Regions from separate parts of the Homo sapiens genome. Here regions 1, 2, 3 and 5 are each linked to region 4. Evidence: promoter capture Hi-C in 16 types of primary human blood cells and fetal thymus (Javierre and others, 2016). All regions are on one chromosome and are shown on one strand. Each heading gives the region's core, a stretch centred on a gene start or on the middle of the fragment in contact. The rest is flanking DNA. Distances are from core to core; before and after follow the strand shown.

Region 1 (3,267 bases), core at 713-3,212, 150 kb before region 4:
TGCCAAATAATCACTGTAACTTGTATTTAAAGGAGGAAGGTCAAAGAACACAACTCTTTCAAATGGCAGAAAAACAAAGGTCAAATTTTGAGGCTACTTAAAACATTTAAGAATTTAATTTAGCTTTTACTTGCAATTTGCTTCTCAGAGCCATTTACTTTGTTGGCTCCTTGTTTTCCCTATAGGAGAACTGATAACTTTAGTGACGAAATACAGTTAAATTATTATCCATGGGCCACTTGAATCCCTTGAAAAGATGTTACCTTGACTGAGGCAGAGTAGTCTTGGAAAATAAATTTTTGGGCAAGGGTTAACAAGAAACTGAGCCTTAAGTACCAAGAATAGGATTACTTGAATACTCGTGAACACCCAGAGATGCAATATGTAACCATGAGCAAAGGAAAAAAGTGGAAAAGCAAAAAACATGGCAAAGGAAAAAAAGGATGAAAGAAAGAGTATGAGAGGAAGAGAAAGATGCTACTCTGATCAACAGTTCCCCAATACTGAAATAATAAATTCCCAACTCATCAGGGTGCCCCACAGGGCCCTTCACAATCTTACCCTCACCTAACCGTTTAGTTTGATTAAGCTACTTTTGTGCATGTACTCTAGGGTTCCAGGCACACTGATGGTTCATTTACCCTCTCATGCTTTGGCACATGCTGATCCTTCTGTCTTAAATGCTGCTTTGCTCCCTGTCTGCCTGGTGAACTATTCTCAGACTTCTGTCCAATTCTTATTTCTTCTGTGAAGACCTCTCCATCCTATCTACCCCATTTACAAACAGCTGTTCCTCTCTGTGGGCTTCCAAAACACTATGTGTATACCTCTGACTGACACAGACCCCACTACAGTATGTTCTAGCTGTTTACATTGTCTTTCCCACTAAACTCTGAGGGTAGGGCCTTATCTTTTTTACACCCAGCATTATGTATACAATACATCAACTGTTTTATAAATGCCTATTCAATGAGTGAAAGTATACATGGGAATTGTGCTACGAACAGTCAGTGTTAGTCTAGAGTAGTGGTTTTCCAACTTACTAACATTTTTAGCAATGGATTCTCATTTTCATAAGAAATAGTATATGAGAACCCACAAATAAAAACCCTGGTTGAAGTTGGGGAGGAAAGGCCCAGAGTAATGCCTTCCTATTATCCACCTTCCCTCTCCCATCCCAGAAGAAATCCAGAGCTCCAAAGAACTCAGGCTGAAAATACTGTTTTAACAGGCTTAAAAAAATCTTAAAATATAATGATAAAGGAAAAGATTCTTCACTCATTTGTTCTGCTATATACTAATCCTGAAAAACAAAGTTCCATTTCCTTTTTAAGAAAAACTCAAAATGGAAAAATAGCTGTACTAAAAATGGAAAAATTGCTAGGCTTTTGGAGAAACAGTTATAATAAAATTATTTTCTTAAAAGGACAGATTTTTTTGTGTGTGATTCTTTATTGTAATAACATGAATACTCAAACCTGTTTTTCTTAAACTACTATACACCTAATCTGGTGTTACCGATGATGAATATTATAATTAGTAAGCTACTATTTAGATTTTACCTCCCTAGTATTATAGACATCCTTTTATCTTAATTTTTCTTTTTCTTAAAATTTGACCTCCTTAACTGCATTAACTTGTTTCATGTTAGCAACTAATAACTTTTAATTTTTCTTAGGGAAGCATTTTAGGAACAAATTGAAATATGGTCTATAGTAAGTACAATAAAAATCTTACTTCATCAGCAAGTTTTCGGTTAAAAATCCTTGACTCTTCTAATGGTGACCAGATCTTTATGTCATAATCTATGCCAGATGAGGCTAAAACTAGAAATAAAATTTATATATTAATATGAAGCCTAGAAACATGCAATTCAGGATATGCTTATATTATGCATATATGTATATATAGCAAAACTAACCTTGAACAGCAATTGTACACTATATATTTAACTGTTAATTGAAAATATTATTTTGACAATTTGCTAAATGTTATCCTAGAACGTAATTTTAATACCATGTTGAAGTCACTCAGATTCATTGTTGAAGTCACTTATTCATTGTTCTTTTATGAGATATGTGGGCAATTTCAAAAAGAAGACGAGCAATGCTCTTTTGTTCTGATAAATTAATTCAGCTATGTGAAGACTAAAAATGACTGGATGTTCCATTTGGATATACAATAAAAAGTTCAGTCACACCAAACCTCTTACAGCTTGTAAAACTTAGAAGAAATATTGGGAGAATAAACTTTTTAACCTATTTTCTTTTACTTTGTGCAAAAAGCAGATTACAGGTGTGTTTGAAGTGCAAGTTCAGCTGTAATTGACTCTACTGCTGCCTAGTCAGATAGTTTGGATTATTCTTATAATATTAACAATTAAAAAAGAATAATTTTGTATGACTGATGAGTCATACAAATAATTTCTAGCCCTCGTCCTAGAAAAGATATCTTACTTGGGTCAAACGGATGTGGCTGCAGGCAGTTTACCACATGATTATCAGCTTCCAGAAGCATCAAATGCTCAGCAGTGTGCCGATCCCAGATGAAAATGTGGCCACAGTCAGAACCACTCATTACAAAGTTAGCACCCCAGAAATTGGCTTCTTTTATCTAAGGGTTAAAAAAAATTATTTAAAAATTCAAATCAAAGTTATTAAAACAAAGATTTATGCTACTCTTACATTTTTTTATTTGTTTTAATTCTTACATTTTTTAAAAAACTGGCTTAGAAAATAGTAAAATTAAAAATTGATGCTGGGCGCAGTGGCTCACACCTGTAATCCCAGCACTTTGGGAGGCCAAGGCAGGAGGACTGCCTGAGCTGAGGAGTTTGAGACCAGCCTGGGCAATATAGTGAGATCCCCTATCTATAAAAAAAAAAACTGACAAAAATCTGTCTTCTAGCTTCTTTAAATTATGATAGGCATTCATCAGCAAGGGTAAGATGGCAGTAAGTAATAGAAAATCCCCCCTAAGAAGAGGGACTTTGCTTTGTTCAATACTATATTTACAGCACCTGAAATGGTACTTGGGATACAATAGGTGCTTAATTATTAACTGCTAAATGAAAGAATAGGATTTCTGGGTTTTGGGCAGTATAATGGCAATTTACATATATGTTGCTGAACTTTCCAAAAATTGTACCAATTTAGCTTTATAAGACAATGAAATAATTCACAGATAAAAGAAATTGTCTTTTGTATTTTGCTTTAGACCCAAAGAATAGAAAGAAGATCATTAGCTATTATAAGCTAACACAATTGA
Region 2 (2,953 bases), core at 217-2,716, 200 kb after region 4:
GCTCTGTAACAGAGTAGTTTCCAATAAACTTGCTTCTTTCACCCTGAATTCTTTCCTGCACGAGATCCAAGAACCCTCTCTCCAGGTTCGGTGAAGACCCCTTTTTCCGGCAACAAAAGTACTAAAATGCAGTGAGCCATGATCATGCCACTGCACTCCAGCCCGGGCGACAGAGTGAGACCCTGTATCAAACAAAAAACACCTAAAATTCGTATTGTTAAGGAATTTGAGACAAATTGTAATCATTCAGAATCATTCATTGAGCACCAGCTTCCTTATGATAAGCCTCAATGCTAAGTATTTAAGAATTTAGGGCCAGGCACGGTGGTAATCCCAGCACTTTGGCAGGCCGAGGCAGGTGGATCACGAGGTCAGGAGATCGAGACCATCTTAGCTAACACGGTGAAACCCCGACTCTATTAAAATACAAAAAAAATTAGCCAGGCGTGGTGGCGGGCGCCTGTAGTCCCAGCTACTGGGGTGGCTGAGGCAGGAGAATGGCATGAACCCAGGAGGCGGAGCTTGCAGTGAGCCGAGATCGCGCCACTGCACTCCAGCCTGGGTGACAGAGCTAGACTCTGTCTCAAAAAAAAAAAAAAAAAAAAAAAAAAAAAAAAAAGAAATTAGGCCGGGCGCAGTGGCTCACGCTTGTACTTTGGGAGGCCGAGGAGGGTGGATCAACTGAGGTCAGGAGTTGGAGACCAGCCTGGCCAACATGGTGAAACCCGCCTCTACTAAAAATACAAAAATTAGCTGGGCATGGTGGCAGGTGCCTGTAATCCCAGCTACTCGGGAGGCGGAGAATCGCTTGAACCTGGAGGGCGGAGGGGGCGGAGGTTGCAGTGAGCCGAGATCACACCACTTCTCTCCAGCCTGGCGAAAGAGCGAAGCGAGACAACGTCTCAAAAAAAAAAAAAAAAAAAGAAAGAAAGGAAAAAGAATTTAAAATATAGTTAAGAAGCCATGCTTACTATATCTAATTAAAGATATTGGGACAATCGAACAGCAATCACACAATTGGTTGCCAATTCTACAGTAGAATTTCGTGTTGGTGTAGGTGTCTTGCGCTCTAAGAAGTTACAGTTGGAGGAGATAAGACTGAAACCCAGTTATTTACCACATACTATTGGTTTTGATATGTTAAAGGATCTTTTTCTGGGAAGGTTAGAGTTTGGGATTTGTCCAAAAGCAAACAGGTTTTCCAGCTGAAGAGAACACTTCGAGTAAAAACAGAGATGGGAATTCACAAGGCTAGATAGGTAGGGCTTTGAATATTACAATAAAAAATATCGGCAAGAAACCGAGATTTTAACATTATAGAAAAGTGCGAAAAAGAACGAATGAAACATCCAGAACTCACTCAGTAACGGAGAGAGTCTGGAATCTGCCACAGTGACATTGTCCCACACTAATAGCCATTTATTAGCCATGAATAGAAATACAATTACAATTTTCGAAATAAGAGGTCGATATTATACTGATAGTGACAATTTTGCTGTCTTCTGTGTTACTGATTTTCAAAGAGCAAAACAGAAAAGAAAGAAAATTGAAAACGCGGTATCTATAGAAAGCAAACACAACCCAAAGATCGAATCCTAACATGCGAGCAACCACTTGAGGGCGCAGGACTAAATAGCTATGTGTTCCTTTCTGATGACAGTAAGGTGGAGTTTGTGTCGGCTCGTTGGTCTAGGGGTATGATTCTCGCTTAGGGTGCGAGAGGTCCCGGGTTCAAATCCCGGACGAGCCCTGTTTTGGAGTAAGAATCACTTAAAGGTGAGTTTTTTTGGGGATAGATTACTAAACGTAATAAATACAGGTTGGTCAGAGTAAAACACAAAATTGAGATTTTTGGAAACTTAGAGCACACTCTACATTGAAATACCATTAAAAGGCCTCATTTTGAAAATGTAAAAAGTTTGCTAGTAATGTAGTATTGTACTATGAAAACATTGTCCCTAGCTGTCTATTCCTGGGTGCAGCGCGTGTACAGGGCCATCGGGAGCTCAGTTCTTGGCTGCCTATGGCGTGGTTTAAACTCATCCACGACAGTGCCCCTCATCGGGGGTGGGGATATCTCCTGAGCGCCCCTTTCCTCGGAAATGCTGATTCCCGAACCCCGGGACATGCTAATCCATGACGCCCCCTGCTCGTTTGGAGGAGTTAAAGGCGTGCACAGGATTCCGCACTAGGCGTCTGTTTTTCAAGAGTGTGTGTTTTACATGGTACAAAGCAATTTGAATGCGTTGCCTTTGGGCGTACAGTAACCATATGTTGTATTAATTGAGCTCACATGGTCCCTCGCTTCAAAAAACAAAGGGGATCAACATTCGAGCTCATGGGACCAGTATGTTTTCATTTAAGTTTCTGAATGGAATATGTGGGGAATTAGGGGGAAAAAATCTGTTTTTAAATTTCGGGTGTGGGGTGGGTAAAAGCCTGGGCTCGTCCGGGATTTGAACCCGGGACCTCTCGCACCCGAAGCGAGAATCATACCCCTAGACCAACGAGCCGCTCTCGGCAAGGGCACTCCCAGAGCTTCCCTTCAGCCTTGTTCCGCCTCTCACCTCGTGTTCCGAGCAACCACGACCTGCGACCCTTATACTGCGTGTCCTCTGATTCCCTAAGCCTCGGGTCCGGAGCGCTTACTGCCCCACAGCGTGGAGGAGCAGGGAGGGACCGGCTTTTGCCTGGTCCGGCCGTTCCAACCCCCCATCGCCGGCGTGGCCTCCACGTTCGCACGCGCTCCCGGAAGCCGCCTTCCGGCTTACGGGCTCGCCCCGGCTGTTCCACTCGCAGTGTTGGCGGGCGCCCGGGAGCCCGGGCTGAGGAAAGTGCGGGGCGGGGCAGGGCGCCTCAGGACGCAGCCCGGTGCCAAGTCCCGGCGGCGCCCCGCCCGCGCCCAGCCCGTCAGTGCACGCAGAGCTGGGCCTGCTCGCTCCGCGAGTGGGTC
Region 3 (3,376 bases), core at 241-2,740, 170 kb after region 4:
AATAATGAATAGGGAAAAGTTGAAAGCAGTCCCTCTGAGAACTGGAATAGGACAAAGATGCCCACTCTTACCACTTCTCTTCAACAAAGTATTGGAAGTCCTAGCCCGAGAAATCAGACAAGAGAAAGAAATAAAGGGCATCCAAATCAGTAAAGAGGAAGTCAAACTGTTGTTGTTTGCTGATGATAAGACTGTTTACCTAGAAAACCCTAAAGACTCCTCCAGAAAGCTCCCAGAACTGATAAAAGAATTCAGCAGTTTCCAGATGCAAAATTAATGTAAACAAATCAGTAGCTCTTCTATACACCAACAGCAACCAAGCTGAGAATCAAATCAAGAACTCAACCCCTTCTACAATAGCTGCAAAAAAAGTAAAACAAAATACTTAGGAATATACCTAACCAAGGAGGTGAAACACTTCTACAAGGAAAACTACAGAACACTGCTGAAAGAAATCACAGATGACATAAACAAAAGGAAACACATCCCATGCTCACGGATAGGAAGAATTAATATTGCGAAGGCCAGGCGCGGTGGCTCACGCCTGTAATCTCAGTACTTTGGGAGGCCGAGGCGGGAGGGTCACGAGGTCAAGAGATCGAGACCAGCCTGGCTAACATGGTGAAACCCCGTCTCTACTAAAAATACAAAAATTAGCTGGGCGTGATGTGCGCCTGTAGTCCCAGCTACTTGGGAGGCTGAGGCAGGAGAATTGCTTGAACCCAGGAGGCAGAGGTTGCAGTCAGGCAAGATCACGCCATTGCAATCCAGCCTGGCGACAGAGCGAGACTCTGTCTCGAAGAAAAAAAAAAAGTGAAAATGATGATACTGCCAAAAGTAATCTACAAATTCAACGCAATTCCCATCAAAATACCACCATCAGTTTTCACAGAACTAGAAAAAACAATCCTAAAATTCATATGGAACCAAAAAAGAGCCTGCATACAATCTGGAGACATCACATTACCTGATTTCAAACCATACTATAAGGCCACAGTCATCAAAGCAGCCTGGTACTGTAATAAAAATAGGCACATAGACCAAAGGAACAAAATAGAGAACCCAAAAATAAACCCAAATACTTACAGCCTACTGATCATTGACAAAGCAAACAAAAACATCAAGTGGGGAAAGGACACCCTATTCAACAACTGGTGCTGGGATAATTGGCTAGCCACATGTAGGAGAATGAAACTGGATCCTCATCTCTCACCTTATACAAAAATCAACTCAAGATAGATCAAGGACTTAAATCTAAGACCTGAAACTATAAAAATTCTAGAAGAGAACATTGGAAAAACCCTTCTAGACATTAGCTTACGCAAAGACTTCATGACCAAGACCCAAAAGCAAATGCAACAAAAACAAAGATAAATAGCTGGGACTTAAACTAAAGAGCTTTTGTGTGGCAAAAGGAACAGTCAGCAGAGTAAACAGACAACCCACAGAGTGAGAGAAAATCTTCACAATCCATTCCAAAATAAACTATAGTTCCTATTCTGATTATGGTAGACTGATGATAGACTATGGACTCCTTAAGAAATTCCCTCAGGCACTCCATATATATTTATTTTAAAAGTTGGCAAGTATCTTTTTTATTTGAAAGATACTATTAAGGTATCTGCCCATAATATAGTTAGGCGATACACTCTTATACTTGTTATATATTTATATGCCGGGTTTTTGATATTATGGAAAACAAGAACAATTTGATAAGATCAAAGATTTTTTTTTCTTTTTTTTGTCTTGCTCTGTCACCCAGGCTGAAGTGCAGTGGCATGATCTCTGCTCACTGCAACCTCCGCCTCCCAGGTTAAAGTGATTCTCCTGCCTCAACCTCCCGAGTAGCTGGGACTACAGGTGAGGGCCACCACGCCTGGCTAATTTTTCTATTTTTAGTAGAGACGGGGTTTTGCCATGTTGGCCAGGCTGGTCTCAAACTCCTGACCTCAGGTGATACACTTGCCTTGACCTCCCAACAAGGGTTTTTTTCTGGGGGCAGGGTCTCACTTTGTCACCCAGGCTGGAGTGCAGTGGCATGATCATGGCTCACTTCACCCTCAACCTCCCAGGTGCAAGCAATCTTCCCACTTCAGCCTCCTGAGTAGCTGGGACTACAGGTGTGAGCCATCAGGCCCAGCTAACTTTTATATTTTTTGTAGAGACAGGGTTTCACCATGTTGCCCAGGCCGGTCTTGAACTGCTGAGCTCAAGTGATCCTCCTGCCTTGACCTCCCAAAGTGCTGGGATTATCGGCATGAGCCACAGTGCCCAGCCAAGACTAAAGGGTTTTAAACAACAAAATGACAGCACCTGATGTAAAATAGTTCTTGCTGCTATGTAGAAAATGGAGTGGAGGGGAATACGGACTGAAATTGGGAAAGCAGTTAAGAAGTGACTGCAGGCCAGGCACAGTGGCTCATGCCTGTAATCCCAACACTTTGGGAGGCTGAGGCGAGCAGATCACTTGAGGTCAGGAATTCAAGACTAGCCTGGTCAACATGGTGAAATCCAGCTCTACTAAAAATACAAAAATTAGCCAGGCGTGGTGGCGTGTGCCTGTAATTCCAGCTACTCAGGAGGCTGAGGCACAAGAATTGCTGGAATCTGGGAGGCGGAGGTTGCAGTGAGCTGAGATCATGCCACAGCACGCCTGGGTGACAAGTGAGACCTTGTCAGGAAAAAAAAAAAAAAAAAGTGACTGCAGGCTAGACGTGGTGACTCATGCCTGTAATCCCAGCACTTTGGGAGGCTGAGGCAGGAGGATCACTTGAGCCCAAGAGGTCAAGACCAGCCTGGACAACATAGCGAAACCCCCATCTCTAAAAAAAAAAAAAAAAAAAATTAGCCAGGCGTGGTGGCACATGCCTACAGTCCCAGCTACTTAGGAGGCTGAGGCAGCAGGATTGCTTGAGCCCAAGAGTTCAAGGCTGCAGTAAGCCGTGATTACACTACTGCACTTGAGTCTGGGTGACAGAGCAAGACTGTCTCAAAACAAAAACCAAAGAAGTGACTGCAGTAATTCTGGTGCTGTGTACTGCAGCCATGACCTAGACTAGAGGCAAGGAGATGGTGAGAGAAAGGGATGACATACAGGACTTCTTGCTATTAGATTGGACATGGGAGTGAAGAGAAGGGATGAATGGAGAATAACTCCTGGGTTTCTAGCTTGAGCAACTGGATAGATTTAACTGGAGAGAAGGAATAGAAAGCAACCTGCCATTTTGGAAATGTTAAGTTTGCAATGTCAATGAGACCTTGAGACCTCTAAATGGAGTTAAGCAGGTAACCGGATATGCAGGTCTGATGTTCAGAGAGGTCTGAATTGTATATAAATTTTGGAAGTTACCAGCATACAGGCAGTATTTTAAACTAC
Region 4 (3,108 bases), core at 317-2,816:
GCAGGTGGATCACCTGAGGTCAGGAGTTCGCGACAAGACTGACTAACATGGTGAAACCGCATCTCTACTAAATACAAAAAAATTAGCTGGGTATGGTGGCACATGCCTGTAATCCGAGCTACTTGGGAGGCTGAGACAGGAGAATCACTTGAACCAGGGAGGTGGAGGTTGCAGTGAGCTGAGATCACGCCATTGCACTCCAGCCTGGGCAACAAGAAGAAAGTTCAGAAAATGGTAATCTTATTAATTGAAGGTAGACCCAGAAAGTACTTTTCTTTAAGTACTTTAAAGGAAGTTTTAATTTTACTACAAAAAGGATATACTGTGTTAACCTATTTGCACGGTTTCTGAACTAATAACTTTATAGCAGAAAAGAAGCTGCTTGGGGTAGAGGAGTAGTAGGTGGGGTGGAGAATGCTCAATAAGAGATAAATTCTTTAGTCTTTTTTTGTGGTATGGCATCTCTTTTAAGGAAACTTTGATCCAAGGTATGTCAGTGCTGCTGTTTCCTCATAGTAAATATTTTCTTTTTTAACTTATAAAATCATAGCGAAAGGTTGAATGTTAATGAGGATGGACCTCAAAGCTAAGGTTCCTTTCTGTAAAACAAAGGTCTCTACTGGAGCCTGTTTATATAATGAAGCAGAAATAGAAAACACTGGCATTTATTAAGAATAGCTCTCCCTAAGGGGATTGTTTAATTAAATGAGGTATGATTCTAATTATAAGACTGGTTTCCACAACTCACACCAGAAAATTCACTCAATGAACATAATTAAATGACCCTCTTGTTTTCCTCCCTAAGACAACTGTGTTTTACAACATTTGGAAGTACACAGTAAACAATTACAGAGCGGGGCTTTATAGGAGAACATGTACAGCTTTTTAAATAAGACTTTTTAAATTCCAATTTTAAAAGCTGTGCCCCTAAATGATAATTGTGGTTGTGATGATATACATAAGAACATTTAGAAAATCAACACATGATTTAAGCTGTTAGAAAACACACCAGCCTCTTAAAATACATTTTTCCAGTGTCACATCAGATAAAGAAAACTCAAATCCAGTGCCCATTGGATTTCAAGTTATCTTTGGGATAAATTTGATTAAAAGCGTGCACTTGACCAGTCAGAAAGGGCAGGTATATAATTCTTCAAACAAAAATTTACCTCACAAATATATCTGAAGGTAAGTATTGAATTTATTATAACTGGTAAATTTCATAGTCCTGGTACAAGCTGTAACCACTATTGACTAAAATTAGGTGTTTGCTTGCTCTGGAGATACTTCTGATGATCACCTACCAACTATTGCCTAATTTCAACCATCCTCCACATGGCCAAGGGAAGAATTGTGTAAACTACTCTGGGGTCATGTCAGTCTCCCCTGACCCTTGCCTCAAATGTGCGGATAAGAGAACCTGAAACAGCCAGTCCTTCCTTGTACAGTAGTAGGCCACTCAGGTTGGTGGGGGAGGGGACGGCAGTGCCACCCAATCAGAAACATGGTCGGTGCCCGTGGAACAATGAGCTACTGATGAGGGTGTGGCCTGGAAAACGGCTTTTAGACAAAACTGTCATTTTATGGGTCAGCTATAGACAGACATGGCGCTTCAGCTGTCTTCAGAATAATGTCACCCGGCCTCCTCTCCTGTCTTCTGCAGTCTTAAAAGACCTAGTCCCTAACTGAGGTCTGGCTTTTCCTCAGCCCTGGATGAAGTGGAGGTATGTGGAAGTAAGAGTCTCAGCAGAAAGATTGATTGCAGAGCTGAAGATGAGGGCGACCGTCAGGAAAGAAGACAGCTATTGCAGAGGAGTGGGAAGCCTGGGGCTAGAAGTCAGGGTTCAAGTTTGTGTATACCTCTGTGTCAGTCCCTTACATGAGCTTAGAAGCTTGAAGGCTTAAATATTGCCTCACCTTCTCAACCTGGATGCTCTGTCTTTCTAGCTTACTTTCTTTATTTGCCTCTTTTCTGCAGTTTCTCACGTGATATCCTCCTTTTTATCAGTCAACAACTACCAAGTGCCTACCTCTTGAAGGGGGCTCTGGCAAGGTGCTGTGGAGTAAACAAAGATATGTAGAAGATGGTTCCAAACGGGGAGCTTACAATTCAGATGAAGACAAAATAGAAGCAATTCAAAAGATAATCAAGGATATTTGTATGGGAAATAAGCCACTTAAGTGTAGACATTAAGAGCCACAATAGCTCAGAAGAAAAATTACCATGGCTAGAGTAGGCAAGCAAGCTTTCATGACAGGTAACACTGTGCCTTTAAGTTCAGAGTATCTCCCTCTTTGGACTCGTGAAACCTGACTTTACATGTAGGTGAAAAGTTGAATATAAAATCTATTAGGAAATTCTAGAGGAGAGATTTAGAGAAACTGATGAATATAATCGAACCCTAATTTCTCTTTTCATTTTTGGGTACTACTGAGTTTTCTTTACTCACACTCCGCATTCAGGAATCCTTCTTGGTTTATCTTTCGGGCCTCATTCGCCTGCTTGCCTTTTGACTCAGGTATCCTCATTTCTCATTCCAAGGTGCTTCCGCGCTTTGTCAGTACCCATGCTGTTCATGCTGTATTCTTGATGTGATAGAATTGGCTGAACAGTTGATAAGGGTACCATCAACATGCATTGAAAGTGCTCTTAAATTAAACCTACATCTTTTGTCTAGGTCATATACATCCCCAAAGTGCTATAAAGCGTATACAAATGGGATATAGCATGATATAGTAGAAACAACAGGGACTTTCAAGTCCCACAGACCTGGATATTCCAGCTTTATAACCCAGAGCAAGTTAATACCTCTGTGCTTCAGTTTTCATATCTATAGAAATCAGGTCTACTTCATAGCGCTGTTTGGATGATTAAATGAGGCAACCTATGTAGAATTGATACGGCTCCGATGAGTGGAGGAACACCAAGGTTCTTAGTCCTCATCCCGGTTTAGATAAAACGACACAGACACATGTGGAGTGATTTTAAGGATCGGAGAGTTTAATAGGCAAGAAGGAAGAGGAAAGAGGGAAGAAGCTCCCCCATACAGAGACAGAGGGAGGGGGGCTCCAAAGCCGAGAGAGGGAACCCCCAGTGGGGTGGACGTC
Region 5 (3,289 bases), core at 490-2,989, 140 kb after region 4:
CCCTGGTTTCAGAGAGTGTTCTCCTATGTGTATACAACTCTGTAATCAGACAAAGACTCAAGGGGACCCCGCTCCAAATCTCTGAAGTGCTCGTGCTCATCCTAGCACGCTCTCTCTATGGTTCCTTCTTTGGTACTCAGCCTCATAAATCTTAGCCTCCTTGACCTCCCCAAATTCTGATTTCCGCCTTCTCAATTGAGTGAGACAGCTGGGCCCAGTTTCCATTTTCCCCACCTACACTGCAGTGTGGAAACTGCTTCAAGGCAGTACACTGGGGCAATAACACGGCTCACATTGTCTGTTTCCTTTCTTTTGGGGATGACAGTGCTGCATAATTTGTGTTCCACTGTCTTGAAAACCACAGTTTCTTTTTCTTTTTTCTGGTTTGTTTTCAGCAAAAAAGCAACTTCCATAGTGCTTCAAGGGCGGAATAAAAATGTTCCAATGCTTTTTTAGATGCTATGCCTATGTGTATGTAACTTTCATGTCTTCATTTACAACCATATTCCTGTTCACAACCCAAATTAGTAGACTGAGGTATCTGACATATATTATGTAATGTGAGAGAGAGACAGACAGATAGAACAGGAACAAGTAATGAGCCTGATGCTGTGGTAGAGAACATGCTATCTAGACACCTGGGTTCTAGCCCCAGTTCTGTCACTAACTGGGTGTGTGCTTTTAGTAATTTAACATCACAATGCCTTAGTTTCCTCACCACATATAACAACTATGGAATAAGACTATGGGTACTTTTCCCACAAAACACTGTTACTCTCTTTATTTCCTCTTAAATCCATTCCCACCAGCTAACACCTTTTTAGGACAAAGCTATAACTGGCCAAATTCTTTAGCATGCTTTCTACCCCAGAAAAATCAAACTGAACTAAGCTATGGAATTTTTGCCAAGCCACAGTTATAATTAAAATACTACAGCCAAAACACACAAAGCTAGATTATATGCTAACTTCCAAATAAAACCTGTTTCTCTTCTGTACTTTCTACAAGTAGAAACCAAAACCATTCCTTGTTCATCAAGCCTATTAATTATTCAGATAAATGCTTACTTTCCATTTTTTCTAAAGAATCCACAGAAAATAATTTTGGTTTTATTATCAATACTAAGAATACCAACTTTTCCTTGCTAATTTCTTATCTTAGAGTACCTCAATACAGAAAGAATCTCCTTCATTAGATTCATTTCCTTGGGCAATTAAAGAATCTTTTACTGACAAAGCCATTTCCTAATTCTGCTTGAGGCAAGGAAGCTACATGGTTAGTAAACAATTTATGTTATTGGTGGTTTCATGGAAATCTTTACTCAAGCAGATTCTTCACCACATATTTTCCTGTGGTCTTCCTAGGCCAGCCCTTTAATTCCTCACTCCCACTCTCTCTTTGTCTCTGTCTGTCTGTCTCTGTCTCTGTCTCTCATAGCTCAGTATTCTTTTCCACACCCAAGGAAGTGACAGAGCACCAAGCTGTAGGGAACAGTGCAGTGGGCAGAATCGCAATCAGCCATTACCTGGTGAGATCCAGAAGGCAGACTCTTTACAAGACCCTCAGTGTCGGAGGGGGACTTCCGAGGAGCCTGCTTAACTGGTGACAAACTCTCTGATGTACTGCAGCTGATGAATTGGCAATTTGAAGAACAAATGTAAAAAATAATAATAATAAATAAATAGAAACAAAAATATAGAAATGCAACTGACGGCAAGATGAAGCAACAGATATATAAAAACAAAAGACAACATAACAATGGGTGTCAAAATGATCACATGTTTTTAAACTATTTTCTATACCTGACACTCACTCATTCTTCTAAGTCAATGAACTCATCACTGGGGGAGGCACAGAAACAAATATGGTACAACCTCTTCAACCCAGTTTACAAAAATCATATTGGAATTCTAGTTACAATACACATTTATCCTTTTGCTGTTTGTCTTTTCCCCCTGCCATCAACCCTCCTTTGGGATAAAGGTTTAAGGGAACAAGCTCTATGGTACCTTTTATTAGCTTAATGGCAATTCACTTTTGTTATAATCAAAGGCAAACCTCTTCTGAATGTATGTTTTAAATTACAGATATATATCCAGGCAAGTCTTGGCTTATCTTGTTCTCTCCATATTTTTATTCCCTACCAATACCACAATCAAATCCCCCCAAAAACTCAGGAAGTCATGAATGAGAAATTAGGGAATGCCAGGTCACACAGGCTGAACCTTTTCACGGTGACAGTAGTCTTTAACAACAAGCACTATCTCATAAATGAATCAGGGAAAGTGAATGCCAGGAAGTAAGAAAGCTGGGGTACAGCGTAGGGATTTTCCAATGAGATGTGTCATCAGTACAGCTTAAAGCCTTTTGATATATACTTTTAAAACTTAGGAGTTTGGGGAGAATCACATTTAAAGTGTCATTACTAAGACCAAAGCATACCATGCATTCTGCAAACTGTTCCTTCTGTGAAATGGGAGGCTACATGCTCTGAACCAAAATGGTTTAATTATTCTAATACATAATCAGTCAGGATCTTAAATATTGATAACATAATACATATATGAAAAAAGAAAACTAATGCACACACACACATACACAATGGCATTTTACATGAAGAGCACAAATATTCAGATGTGCATAAAAACTCTATGTAACTTCACAATCCAATTTCATCCAGATAGTATGCTCAACATGTTTCCAATACAAACATGTGACATATTCATGGACAAATCATAATAGCTGTTGGGTTAGCTCAGAGCTAGCTGGTTAGTCATCAACAAGGGAGAGGGGCTGAATACATACACAGGAATATTAACAGTAATGGGCAATGTGATTAGTTACCATGTGTCTAGTGGGAGTGGAAGAGGAGACCCAGCCCTGTTATAGTCCCAATGTGTCTTCTATGTCAGCTTTTCTTAAGAAGTGGAAGATAAGCAGGATCTGATCCCAGCACACCAAGGTAGAAAAGGTAGAGGAGGAGGAAAAAAACCAAGGTAAGAAGAACAGCAGCATTCATGATGCCATGCAGGAGTCTAAGGAACTCTTTCCTGCCCCTCATTAACCCCGAAGCAAGAACTACAAAGACCGGCATGTCACCACCCTGGATTAGTCTCATGTTGAAACCAATAGTCCAACTATATTTAATCATAAAACACTCACCATGCAAGGGGGGCAGATACAGTCAGCAGAATAGAAGCATTCCAAGCAAGTAATATCTGAATTTGAACACTCAAACTTGTTAAAACACAGCACTCCTAAAAACTCTAGATCAGCAGAGCCCATAGAT

The links. Contacts are between HindIII fragments. The CHiCAGO score rates a contact against its expected background, and 5 or more counts as called.
Region 1: a contact is called between a fragment that was not itself captured here and the fragment with the promoter of ADCY10 in region 4, in 1 of 17 cell types (erythroblasts). The highest score is 5.2, in erythroblasts.
Region 2: a fragment that was not itself captured here is called in contact with the fragment with the promoter of ADCY10 in region 4 in 3 of 17 cell types (erythroblasts, M0 macrophages and M1 macrophages); the score reaches 9.3 in erythroblasts.
Region 3: a fragment that was not itself captured here is called in contact with the fragment with the promoter of ADCY10 in region 4 in 2 of 17 cell types (M1 macrophages and erythroblasts); the score reaches 6.3 in M1 macrophages.
Region 5: a fragment that was not itself captured here is called in contact with the fragment with the promoter of ADCY10 in region 4 in 2 of 17 cell types (M1 macrophages and erythroblasts); the score reaches 6.1 in M1 macrophages.

Annotation. Positions count from the first base shown.
Region 1 is chr1:168,064,936-168,068,202 of GRCh38, reverse strand. DCAF6 (DDB1 and CUL4 associated factor 6) reads right to left here. Exons shown (of 22, transcript NM_001198956.2): 19 at 2,457-2,613; 20 at 1,738-1,826. Among named protein-coding and RNA genes, the nearest start is that of MIR1255B2, 68 kb to the right of the region's middle. The HindIII fragment of the contact is 9,016 bases long and covers 1-3,267 here.
Region 2 is chr1:167,714,285-167,717,237 of GRCh38, reverse strand. TRP-CGG1-1 (tRNA-Pro (anticodon CGG) 1-1) reads right to left here and starts at 2,513; the gene lies at 2,442-2,513. It overlaps TRP-AGG2-1 (tRNA-Pro (anticodon AGG) 2-1), which reads left to right and starts at 1,679; the gene lies at 1,679-1,750. RefSeq lists silencers at 2,393-2,492, 2,793-2,953. The HindIII fragment of the contact is 8,006 bases long and covers 1-2,953 here.
Region 3 is chr1:167,740,652-167,744,027 of GRCh38, reverse strand. The region is part of intron 1 of MPZL1 (myelin protein zero like 1); the gene reads right to left. Among named protein-coding and RNA genes, the nearest start is that of MPZL1, 20 kb to the right of the region's middle. The HindIII fragment of the contact is 6,033 bases long and covers 1-3,376 here.
Region 4 is chr1:167,912,592-167,915,699 of GRCh38, reverse strand. ADCY10 (adenylate cyclase 10) reads left to right here and starts at 1,566. Exons shown (of 33, transcript NM_018417.6): 1 at 1,566-1,724. It also overlaps a transcript of DCAF6 not described here. RefSeq lists enhancers at 1,185-1,861, 1,862-2,538. The HindIII fragment of the contact is 13,833 bases long and covers 1-1,894 here.
Region 5 is chr1:167,774,403-167,777,691 of GRCh38, reverse strand. It overlaps MPZL1 (myelin protein zero like 1), which reads right to left. Exons shown (of 6, transcript NM_003953.6): 5 at 1,526-1,628. Among named protein-coding and RNA genes, the nearest start is that of MPZL1, 54 kb to the right of the region's middle. The HindIII fragment of the contact is 3,865 bases long and covers 1-3,289 here.